2 separate regions of the Homo sapiens genome follow, and region 2 is linked to region 1. The links are contacts of gene promoters, found by promoter capture Hi-C in blood cells and fetal thymus (Javierre and others, 2016). All regions are on one chromosome and are shown on one strand. Each heading gives the region's core, a stretch centred on a gene start or on the middle of the fragment in contact. The rest is flanking DNA. Distances are from core to core; before and after follow the strand shown.

Region 1 (5,435 bases), core at 2,591-5,090:
AACCACCATTCTGTTTTCTTTCTTTCTCCTTCCTTCCTCCCTCCCTTCCTCCCTTTTTTTCTTTTGTTTGAGACAGGGTCTCACTCTGTCACCCAGGCTGCAGTGTGACATGATCAGAGCTCACTGCAACCTCCACCTCCCAAGCTCAAGCAATGAATCCTACCACCTCAGCCTCCTGAGTAGCTGGGACTACAGAGCGTGTCACCATGCCTGGTTGATTTTTTTTTTTTTAGAGGCGGGGTCTCATAAAGTTGCTCAGGCTGGTCTTGAACTCCTAGCTTCAAGTGATCCTCCCAACTCAGCCTCCCAAAAAAACAGGATTATAGGCATGAGCCTCCCTGTCCAGCCCCAATCCATATTTAAGTCCTGTCTCATTTCTCCAAAATACAGCTCCCTTCATCCCTACCACCTCGTACTCCACCATCTTCCTAGCTCAACTCTCTGCTTCCACATGCACACAAACACAAGCCTTCTCCAAGCACTAGCAGGAGTCTTAAAAAGGAAATCAAATCATGAAACTCCCTACAATGGCTTCTTACACCTCTAGAATAAAACCCCAACATGGCCTCTGCCTTCTCTGGCAATCTCATGTGAGGTCTTCTCCCCACTGAAAAAGTACCCAAGCTATACAAGTCTTCTCTCAAGTCTCTAAACACACGGAGTCTTTCCTGTCTCAGGACCTCTACAAATGCAGAGGGCCCTGTTCCTTCTCTCCATATTCTCACCAGCACACAACACTACCCCCAACAATCAGGGCTGTCTGTTATGCCCCACAGTGAGTTACGTTCTCAAAGAAATCCGAAAGTGCGGTGGCTCACACCTGTAATCCCAGCACTTTAGGAGGCTGAGGCGAGTGGATCACCTGAGGTCAGGAGTTAAAGACCAGACTCACCAATATGATGAAACCCCATCTCTGCTAAAAATTAAAAAATCAGGCTGGGCACGGTGGCTGAAGCCTGCAATCCCAGCACTTTGGGAGGCCGAGGTGGATCACGAGGTCAGGAGTTTGAGACCAGCCTGGCCAACATGGTGAAACCCTCTCTATCAAAAATACAAAAAAATTAGGCAGGCATGTTGGCACACACCTGTAATCCCAGCTCCTTGAGGTTGAGGCAGGAGAGTTGCTTGAACCCAGGAGGCACGGGTTGCAGTGAGCCGCAATTATGCCACTGCACTCCAGCCTGGGAGACACAGCAAGACTATCTCAAAATAAATAAATAAATAAATAAATAAATAAGCCGGGCGTGGTAGCTTGCACTTAGTAATCCCAGCTACTCCGGAGGCTGAGACAGGAGAATCGCTTGAATCCCCAGGAGGTGGAGTTTGCAGTGAACTGAGATCACCTCACTGAACCCCAGCCTGGGCAACACAGGGAGACTCCATCAAAAAAAAAAAAAAAAAAAAAAAAAAAAAAAAAAAGAAGGAAATCCCAAAACCCGGGCAGGGCAGTTACCCTGGATCTCCACATCTGGTTCATGTCTCCAGAAGAGACAGGAGTCCCACTTTGGACACCTTGAGTTTGAGAAGCCTGGGACACCCAAAAAGCTTCCCAATGCACAGGTGACCATGTGGGTCAGGAGACACACCTGCACTCAAAGGCTTGGACTTTTAGCACATAAGGCTGATGACAGAAGAGACTGCACAGAGCAGTGATTCTCATCTTGGAGGAGGGTACCTCTCATCTCTAAGTCACTATATGAAATGAGATATCACTGATGGGAGTGAAGGTGATGCCACATCAGTGGTGTGGAGGACAAAGATACTTTGGAAAGAACCCTGGGTACGAGAGGAAAGAGTGAGGGCGAGGAAAAGAAAGAAACTGAGATGAGTCAAAAGGAAAAGAAAACCAGGAGAGTGATATCACAATTCCCCAAACTCCTATGCCCTTTTATGCTTCTCATGACTTTCTCCCTTCACTTAAAAAAAACTCGACTCATGTTTCATCCAGATCAAATGCCACCACCTCCTGAAAGCCTTTCTGGACTTACCCAAGTAAAACTTATTAGCCCCCTCTCCGTGCCTCTACAAGTTTCTTTTGTTGTTACTATTAGGTAAGATTTGACTCAGACAATAGTTTCATTAGTACTGTTAAGGCACTTACTGCAGTCCGCTCTGTACTACACCTGGGGTGTGTGTCTCCCCTATTACACTGTGAGCTCTTAGGTGGATTAAAAAATTATTCTTTCGCTGAATAAATATCCAGATGGGGTCAGGCACCCTGGCTCAGGCCTGTAATCACAACACTTTGGGAGGCTGAGGCAGGAGGACCACTTGAGCCCAGGAGTTCGAGACCAGCTTGGGCAAGACAGCGAGACACCATCTCTACCAAAAATACAAAAATTAGACGGATGTGGTGGCGCGTGCCTGTAGTCCCAACTACTTCGGAAGCCGAGGTGGGGGGATCACTTGAGCCCAGGAGACAGAAGCCGCAGTGAGTCATGATCGTGTCACTGCGCTCCAGCCCGGGCGACGGAGACCCCGTCTTTAAAAAAAATGTTTGTTCAAAAGTCCAGATTGGTAAATAATTAGGCAGAAACTATAGGTAACTCCTACACTCATTCTTCATTCTTCCTGTAAAACAAAATAACACATCCTAATTAATTCGATTTATAAATTCCGTTCCTTAAAGTAACACCCACCTGTCCAGTATTTAAAAATCACTGCTGACTAAACACAAATATTCGCTCCACAAAATGCCTATCCTGTCCCAACAATGATGTAAGCATTTCCTTCATCATAAATATAAAATGCCCCGAATTTAGTCGTAGACTTGACATATCTCGCTCTTTTCCAAATAATTGTAAATTCTGTACAAAACACACGCACCAAAAAAATGTCACCAAGATGCAAGAGGACGTAAGAGGGAGTCAACCTTGGAACTGGGCCAACCGCCGCCTGCATTACTGGGAAGCCACTGCTGCCAAGCAAAGGTCAGGCATTCATTCAGGCAACATTTTTTCCAACAAGTGCTTCACACTCGCACGCACACACACGCTCCTTTAAAAGTCAACAACAATTAAAAAAAAAAAAAAACCTCTCTAATGCCACTCCTGAAAACTAGGGCTGAAAGCTAAGTGCGTCCAACCGACAAGAAACCCAGGAAAGCTGAGTAATCCCCGAGTCCAAGTGGACGGTCACGCCAAAAGTCCACACGGGTGTGGCCCACCTACGGCGAAGCTGTATGGGAGAAGCCCGGGCTCCAGCCTCCCGGTTCGCCGAGCCCGCGTCCCCGCCGCCCCATCGGGAAGTCTCAGCGGCCGGGAAGGGGGAGGGGGCAGGAACGCCTCGGAGCCGGACGACAATCACTTCCCGGGAAAGCGGCTCCCAGACAAGCCGCCCCAGGGAAGGAAGGCGGCCGAGGGGCCCGGCGCGGGGCTGCCGCGCGCGCCGAGGCCGCGGTAACAAAGTTTGGAAACCGCGAGAAAACTTTTCCAAGAGGAAACGCGGCGGCGGCGCTGGGCCTATAGTTTCTCCTCCCCAGCCCAGGCGGCCCCCCGACTTCCCGAGCGCTGGGAAGCGCCGGCCGTGCCCGCCCGGGCCCCATACTCGGGCCCTGCGGGGGAAGGGACCGCCGGCCCGACGCGGGTCCCACGCCCGCCCGGGGCCCAATTCCCGGCGACGTCGCCAAAGAAACCGCGCCCCGCCCGCTCGCCCGCCCGCGGCTCGCGGGGCCCAGCTTGGGACGGCCCGGCCCAAGGACCCTCTCGGCCTGGCCCGAGAGACCGCGCCCGCGAGGAGGGAGGTACGAAGTTACCTGCGGCTAGCTGGGCGAGCGCTAAATTCCAGAGGCCCGAAGCAGACGGGCGCTGCTTTGTCTCCCTCCAGTCCGGCTAGGAGGAGGAAATGGGCCGCCCCACGCCCCCGCCCCCGGCCCGCCCCCCGCCCGCGGCCCCCGCCCCTGTCCCGGCCCCGCCCGCCCTTCCTGGCACCTCCCTCCGACTCGCTCTTCCCGGCGCCTCCCGCCGCCGCCCCGCCCGCTCCTCCCGGCCGTTCCGGCCTCCGCTTTTGGGGAAAGGGAAGGCCCCCACCGCGAAGAGAGTCTGGCAACGCCGGACCGGGACCCCCGAGGGACCTCTTCCTCCCCGCCGCCCACCTCAGAATTCCTTCCTCCCCGGCCCCTAGTGGGAGCTTAGGCCGGGAGTGACCCCTGAGAGGGAGGAGGAGCGGTGACTCCTGGAACAGCCCGCGGGCGGAGAGGGCTGCGCGAGGGCAGGTGAGTCACCGCTCCGCGCACAGGTGAGGCTCAGGGGCGGCCTCGCGCGGGCCCCCACCCCGGCGGAATCCCAGAGACGCGACCAGGGGTACTGGGCACGCTCCCCTCAAGAGTGTCACAGGTGTCCCGGAGTCACAGTCTTCTGGAAAAGTGATCTAGGCCAACTACCTGGCTTTACAGAAGGAGAAGCGGAGGCTAAGGAAAGGCCCCACAGCTTCGGGACACAGTGGAACTAGAATCTGACTCTCAGGACCTTTCATAATGTGAGGTGGAAGCGCCCCTAGAATTCACCTAACCCGTCCCCTCACTCCACAGATGGAAACACCCGAAGCCCTCTTGATCAAGGACTTTTTTTTTTTTTTAAGACGGGGTCTCCCTCTGTCGCCCAGGCTGGGGTGGAGTGTCGCGATCACGGCCCACTGCAGCCTCAAATCCCTGGACAACCGACCCTCCCACCTCAGCCTCCGGAGTAGCTGGAACTACAGACACAGAGTCTCACTATGTTGCCAGGCTGGTCTCAAACTCATGGGCTCAAGAAATCCTCCTCAGCCTCCCAAAGTGCTGGGATTACAGGCTAGAGCCACCTTGCGGGGAGGACATTTACAAACACAAAAGAGGCACCGCAGCAGCTGTCCCTTTTTGGGCTTGTTCCCGCCCCGCCCCCAGCACGTCCCCCCTCCCAGCTTGTCCCCCTCCTCCAACAAATTTGAGGGACCTGACTTCTATCTCTATTCCTCTGGTCATTTGGGGCATTTTATTCTTACCCTTTCTTATCTTCATAGTGAATACTCCAAAAACAAAAGAAAACAAAATTACAAAGCAAACAAACAACACAAAAAAACAAAAACTACTACATGCTCACTATCATCCTGGTATAGAAAACCCTAATGATGTTTCCCCTGCTCACGGGATGATGAATAAGATAGATTTCAGTATTGGCCTATAAACCTGAATAATGCAAGACGACGATGTCCACTGCTGGCCTTGTGCTGAATAGAGAGCAGGGTGCTAGGGAGACCTGCCCTTACCGTGTTTACCCTCTACTCCTCACATCTCCCTCTCCCCCAAGGGAATATAAACTTCTGGAAAGCAGGAGCTGTATCTCCTGCAGCACCCAGCACATTGCCCATCCCCTAGGGAGTGCCTAGTGAACATCTGTGGGTGAATGTGCCCACTGTAATTCAAAGTACTGTGGGCCTGTGCTAGTTAACAGATGCTGACA
Region 2 (4,996 bases), core at 2,355-4,854, 590 kb before region 1:
TGACCCAGTCTGAGAATTTCTGTCTCATAAGGAATTAACTTTTTTTTTTTTTTTTTGAGACAGAGTCTCGCCTTTGCTGCCCAGGCTGGAGTGCAGTGGCGCGATCTCAGCTCACTGCAGTCTCTGCCTCCAGGGTTCAAGCAATTCTCCTGCCTCAGCCTCCAGAGTAGCTGGGATTACAGGCGCCCGCCACCACACCTGGCTAACTTTTATTTCTTATTTTTATTTTTTGAGACAGAGTCTCACTCTGTCGCCAGGCTGGAGTGTAGTGGCGCAATCTCGGATCACTGTAACCTCTGCCTCCCGCGTTCAAGTGATTCTCCTGCCTCAGCCTCCCGAGTAGCTGGGATCACAGGTGCACGCCACCATGTCCAGCTAACTTTTGTATTTTTAGTAGAAACGGGGTTTCACCATGTTGGCCAGGATGGTCTCAATCTCTTGACTTTGTGATCCACCTATCTCAGCCTCCCAAAGTGCTGGAATTACAGGTGTGAGACACTGTGCCCAGCCAGGAATTAACATTTTTGATAACTGATGTTTCGTTTTATGTCTTTCATAATAATTTCATGTTTACTTTTCTTATGCTTTTTCAAATGTTCTATTAACTATTTCTTTTCTATAGCGTTTATTTTCCTACACTTAATAACTTTAACTATTTTCCTATCAATTAAAAATGTACTCCAAGGGCAGGAGGCAGTGGCTCATGCCTGTAATCCCAGCACTTTGGGAGGCTGAGGCGCGTGGATCACAAGGTCAGGAGATCGAGACCATCCTGGCCAACATGGCGAAACCCGGTATCTACTAAAAATACAAAAATTAGCCAGGCATGGTGGTGTGAGCTTGTAGTTCTAGCTAGTCAGGAAGCTGAGGCAGGAGAATTGCTTGAACTCAGGAGGCGGAGGTTGCAGTGAGCTAAGATCACACCACTGTACTCCAGCCTGGGCGACAGAGCGAGACTCCGTCTCAGAGAAAAACAACAACAACAACAACAGCAAAAAACAACTCTATACATCCATTTAGAATGCCTTTCCTTCTCCAATATACCCAACCCAATGCTTACTCTGAGCCAAGGCAAGCCCTTTAAAATTATTTTACTTACACACTTCTTCCCTCCCCAATCTTCAGTTTTGTGGAAGTTAGCACTGGTAGATTCCTACTATTAGGTTTTCTCTTACTATGTTTTAAAATAATTTTTGAATTGAATACTTGACAATACACATTATCATCCATTTATATTTTACTAAATTCATCACTCAGGCCATGCACAGTGGCTCACGCTTGTAATCCCAGCACTTTGGGAGGCTGAGGCAGGCAGATCACCTGAGGTCAGGAGTTCAAGACTAGCCTGGCCAACATGGCGAAACCGTCTCTACTAAAAATACAAAAATTAGCTGGGTGTGGTGGCAGGCACCTGTAATCCCAGCTACTGGGGAGGCTGAGGCAGGAGAATTGCTTGAACCTGGGAGGCAGAGGTTGCAGTGAGCCAAGACTGTGTCCTGCACTTCAGCCTAAGCAATAAGAGTGAAACTCTGACTTTAAAAAAAAAAAAAAAAGATACAAAGATTAGCTGGGCGTGGCCAGGCACAGTGGCTCACGCCTGTAATCCCAGCACTTTGGGAGGCCGAGGTGGGCAGATCATGGGGTCAGGAGATCTAGACCATCTTGGCTAACACGGTGAAACCCCATCTCTACTAAAAATACAAAAAAAAATTAGCCAAGTATGGTGGCAGGCACCTGTAGTCCCAGCTACTCAGGAGGCCGAGGCAGGAAATTGGCGTGAACCCGGGAGGCAGAGCTTGCAGTCAGCTGAGACTACGCCACTGCACTCCAACTTGGGCGACAGAGTGAGACTCCGTCTCAAAAAAAAAAAAAAAAATTAGCCAGGCTTGGTGGTGGTCCCCTGTTGTCCCAGCTACTCAGAAGGCTGAAGCAGGAGAATTGCTCGAGCCTGGGAGGCAGAGGCTGCAGTGAGCCAAGATCACGCCACTGCACCCCAGCCTGGGTGACACAGCAAGACCCTGTCTCAAAAAATATAAATAAATAAATAAATAAATTCATCACTCGTAGTTTTTTTTTTTTTTTTTTTGACATGGAGTCTCACTCTGTTGCCCAGGCTAAAGTGCAGCTGCACGATCTCGGGTCACTGCAACCTCTGCCTCCTGAGTAGCTGGAATTACAAGTGTGTAACACCATGCCTGTGCCTGGCTAATTTCTGTATTTTTAGTAGAGATGGGGTTTCACTATGTTGGCCAGGCTCGTCTAGAACTCCTGAACTCAGGTGATCCGCCCACCTCGGCCTCCCGAAGTGCTGGGATTACAGATATGAGCCACCACACTGGCCGAGTTGTTTCTTATATTCATCATCTTCCCCTAACTTCCTATCTTTGTAAAATAGTTCAAAAGGCTACCTGAGGATTTATCATTCTAAGCCAGTGTCCAAAACATCTTTTTTTTTTTTATGGATGTACCACAGTTTTTTAAAAATTATTATTATACTTTAAGTTTTAGGGTACATGTGCACAATGTGCAGGTTAGTTACATATGTATACATGTGCCATGCTGGTGTGCTGCACCCATTAACTCGTCATTTAGCATTAGGTGTATCTCCTAATGCTACAAAACATCTTTTGCCTTCATGTTTGAATAAAAATGTTGTATGGCCTGGCGTGGTGGCTCAGGCCTGTAATCCCACCACTTTGGGAGGCCAAGGTGGGTGGATCATTTGAGGTCAGGAGTTCTAGAAAAGCCCGGCCAATATGGTGAAACCTTGCCTCTACCAAAAATACAAAAATTAGCCGGGCATGGTGGTGGGCGCCTGTAGTGTCAGCTACTCAGGAGGCTGAGGCAGGAGAATCGCTTGAACTCGGGAGGTGGAGGTAGCAGTGAGCCAAGATCGCGCCACTGCACTCCAGCCTGGGCGACAGAGCGGAACTGTGTCTTAAAAAAAAAAAAAAAAAAAAAAAGTTGTAACATGAGTATTTCCATGTAAATGTGCTAAAAAAAAAATTAGTTGTAACAGAATTCTGAGATGTCTGTGCTTCCTGTTGATAATCTATTGTCAATAATTCCAACTTTCAATGTTGTAGAAAATCAATTTTCTTTCCTTTTAAAAATCCTGTTCTAGGCTGGGTGCAGTGGCTCACACCTATAATCCTAGCACTTTAGGAGGCCAAGGGAGGTGGATCACTTGAGGTGAGGAGTTTGAGACCGGCCCTGGCCAACATGGTGAAACCCCATCTCTAGTAATACAAAAACTAAGCCAGGCATGGTGGCGCACAGCTGTAGTCCCAGCTACTCGGGAGCCTGAGGCAGGAGCACTGCTTGAACCTGGGAGGCAGAGGTTGCAGTGAGCTGAGATGGTGCATTCCAGCCTGAGCAACAGACTGAGACTGCATCTCAAAAAATAAAAATAAGCTGGGCGCAGCAGCTCACGCCCAGCACTTTGGGAGGCCAAAGGGGGTGGATCACGAGGTCAAGAGATTGAGGCCATCCTGGCCAACTTGGGCGAAACCCCGTCTCTAAAAATGCAAAAATTAGCTGGACATGGAGGTGCACGCTTGTAGTCCCAGCTACTCGGGAGGCTGAGGCAGGAGAATTGCTTGAACCTGGGAGGCAGAGGTTGCAGTGAGCTGAGATGGTGCCACTGCATTCCAACCTGAGCATCAGAGGGAGACTGCATCTCAAAAAATAAAAATAGGCCAGGTGCGGTGGCTCACGCCTGTAATCCCAACACTTTGGGAGGCCAAGGGGGTGGATCATGAGGTCAAGAGATTGAGACCATCCTGGCCAACATGGTGAAACCCCGTCTCTAAAAATACAAACATTAGCTGGGCGTGGTGGCACATGCTTGTAGTCCCAGCTACTGGGGAGGCTGAGGCAGGAGAATCACTGGAACCTGGGAGGCGGAGGTTGCAGTGAGCCAAGATTGCGCCACTGCACTCCGGCCTGGTGACAGAGCAAATCTCCGTCTCAAAAAAATAAATAAAAATTTAAAAATCCTGTTCTAGACGACAGCTTAAGATGTTTTAACAAATTCATATATTTCACCAGATTTTGGATAGGTAAGAGCAATTTTTTCCCAGTACTACTGCCTGGAAGTCAGCAAACCCTTTCAATTTATCAACTTAGGGCTTTATTGTGTCTTCAGCTGTTTTTCCCCTCCTGAAATGCCTCTTAGACATATTGGTTTCCAGCAGTGTCCTTTTATATTGTCTATGGAATTTTAAAATACAGAAATCTTTTAGGTTTTACAATCTTTCTCCACTAGTTTCATCTTTTAAGAATTCTCATTAAAATTCAAATATAGGCCTGGTGCGGTGGCTCACGCCTGTAATCCCAGCACTTTGGGAGGCCGAGGTGGGCGGATCACAAGGTCAGGAGATTGAGACCATCCTGGCTAACACGGTGAAACCCCATCTCTCCTAAAAATACAAAAAATTAGCCAGGCATGGTGGCAAGCGTCTGTAGTCCCAGCTACTCAGGAGGCTGAGGCAAGAGAATGGCATGAACCCGGGAGGTGGAGCTTGCAGTGAAATGAGATCATGCCACTGCACTCAGGCCTGGGCAACAGAGCAAGACTCCGTTTCAAAAAAAAAAAAAAAAAAATTCAAGCATAGTTCTCTTCTGTTTCTTTCATTAATCTACCTCCATAGGCACCATCTTTTCTCATTCCCTTGGACTCTGTTTTGAACCACTGTGATCCTTACCTTATTTGCATATTTTTTAATCGTATTTTACGCATATATACGTTTAAGCATACTTCCTTTGGCAGTTAAAGAGGATCGCAACATTTTTCAATTGGTCTGTTTTCCACTCTGAAGTCTGTGAAAAGCACCGAATTTTTTGTTTTACTATTTGGCACAGTAAGGTAACGATTAAAAAACATGGGCTCTGGGCTGGGCGCGGTGGCTCACACCTGTAATCCCAGCACTTTGGGAGGCCAAGGCCGTTGGATCACGAGGTCAGGAGATCGAGACCATCCTGGCTAACACGGTGA

Evidence for each region. Contacts are between HindIII fragments. The CHiCAGO score rates a contact against its expected background, and 5 or more counts as called.
Region 2: a fragment that was not itself captured here is called in contact with the fragment with the promoter of CTNNA1 in region 1 in 1 of 17 cell types (M0 macrophages); the score reaches 5.5 in M0 macrophages.

What each region holds. Positions count from the first base shown.
Region 1 is chr5:138,751,830-138,757,264 of GRCh38, reverse strand. CTNNA1 (catenin alpha 1) reads right to left here and starts at 3,840. Exons shown (of 18, transcript NM_001903.5): 1 at 3,755-3,840. It overlaps CTNNA1-AS1 (CTNNA1 antisense RNA 1), which reads left to right and starts at 3,341. Exons shown (of 2, transcript NR_134244.1): 1 at 3,341-3,742. RefSeq lists enhancers at 2,673-3,239, 3,240-3,807 and a silencer at 3,511-3,950. The HindIII fragment of the contact is 6,352 bases long and covers 1,548-5,435 here.
Region 2 is chr5:139,345,236-139,350,231 of GRCh38, reverse strand. All of the region lies in intron 1 of PAIP2 (poly(A) binding protein interacting protein 2), which reads right to left. Among named protein-coding and RNA genes, the nearest start is that of PAIP2, 5.9 kb to the right of the region's middle. The HindIII fragment of the contact is 8,536 bases long and covers 1-4,996 here.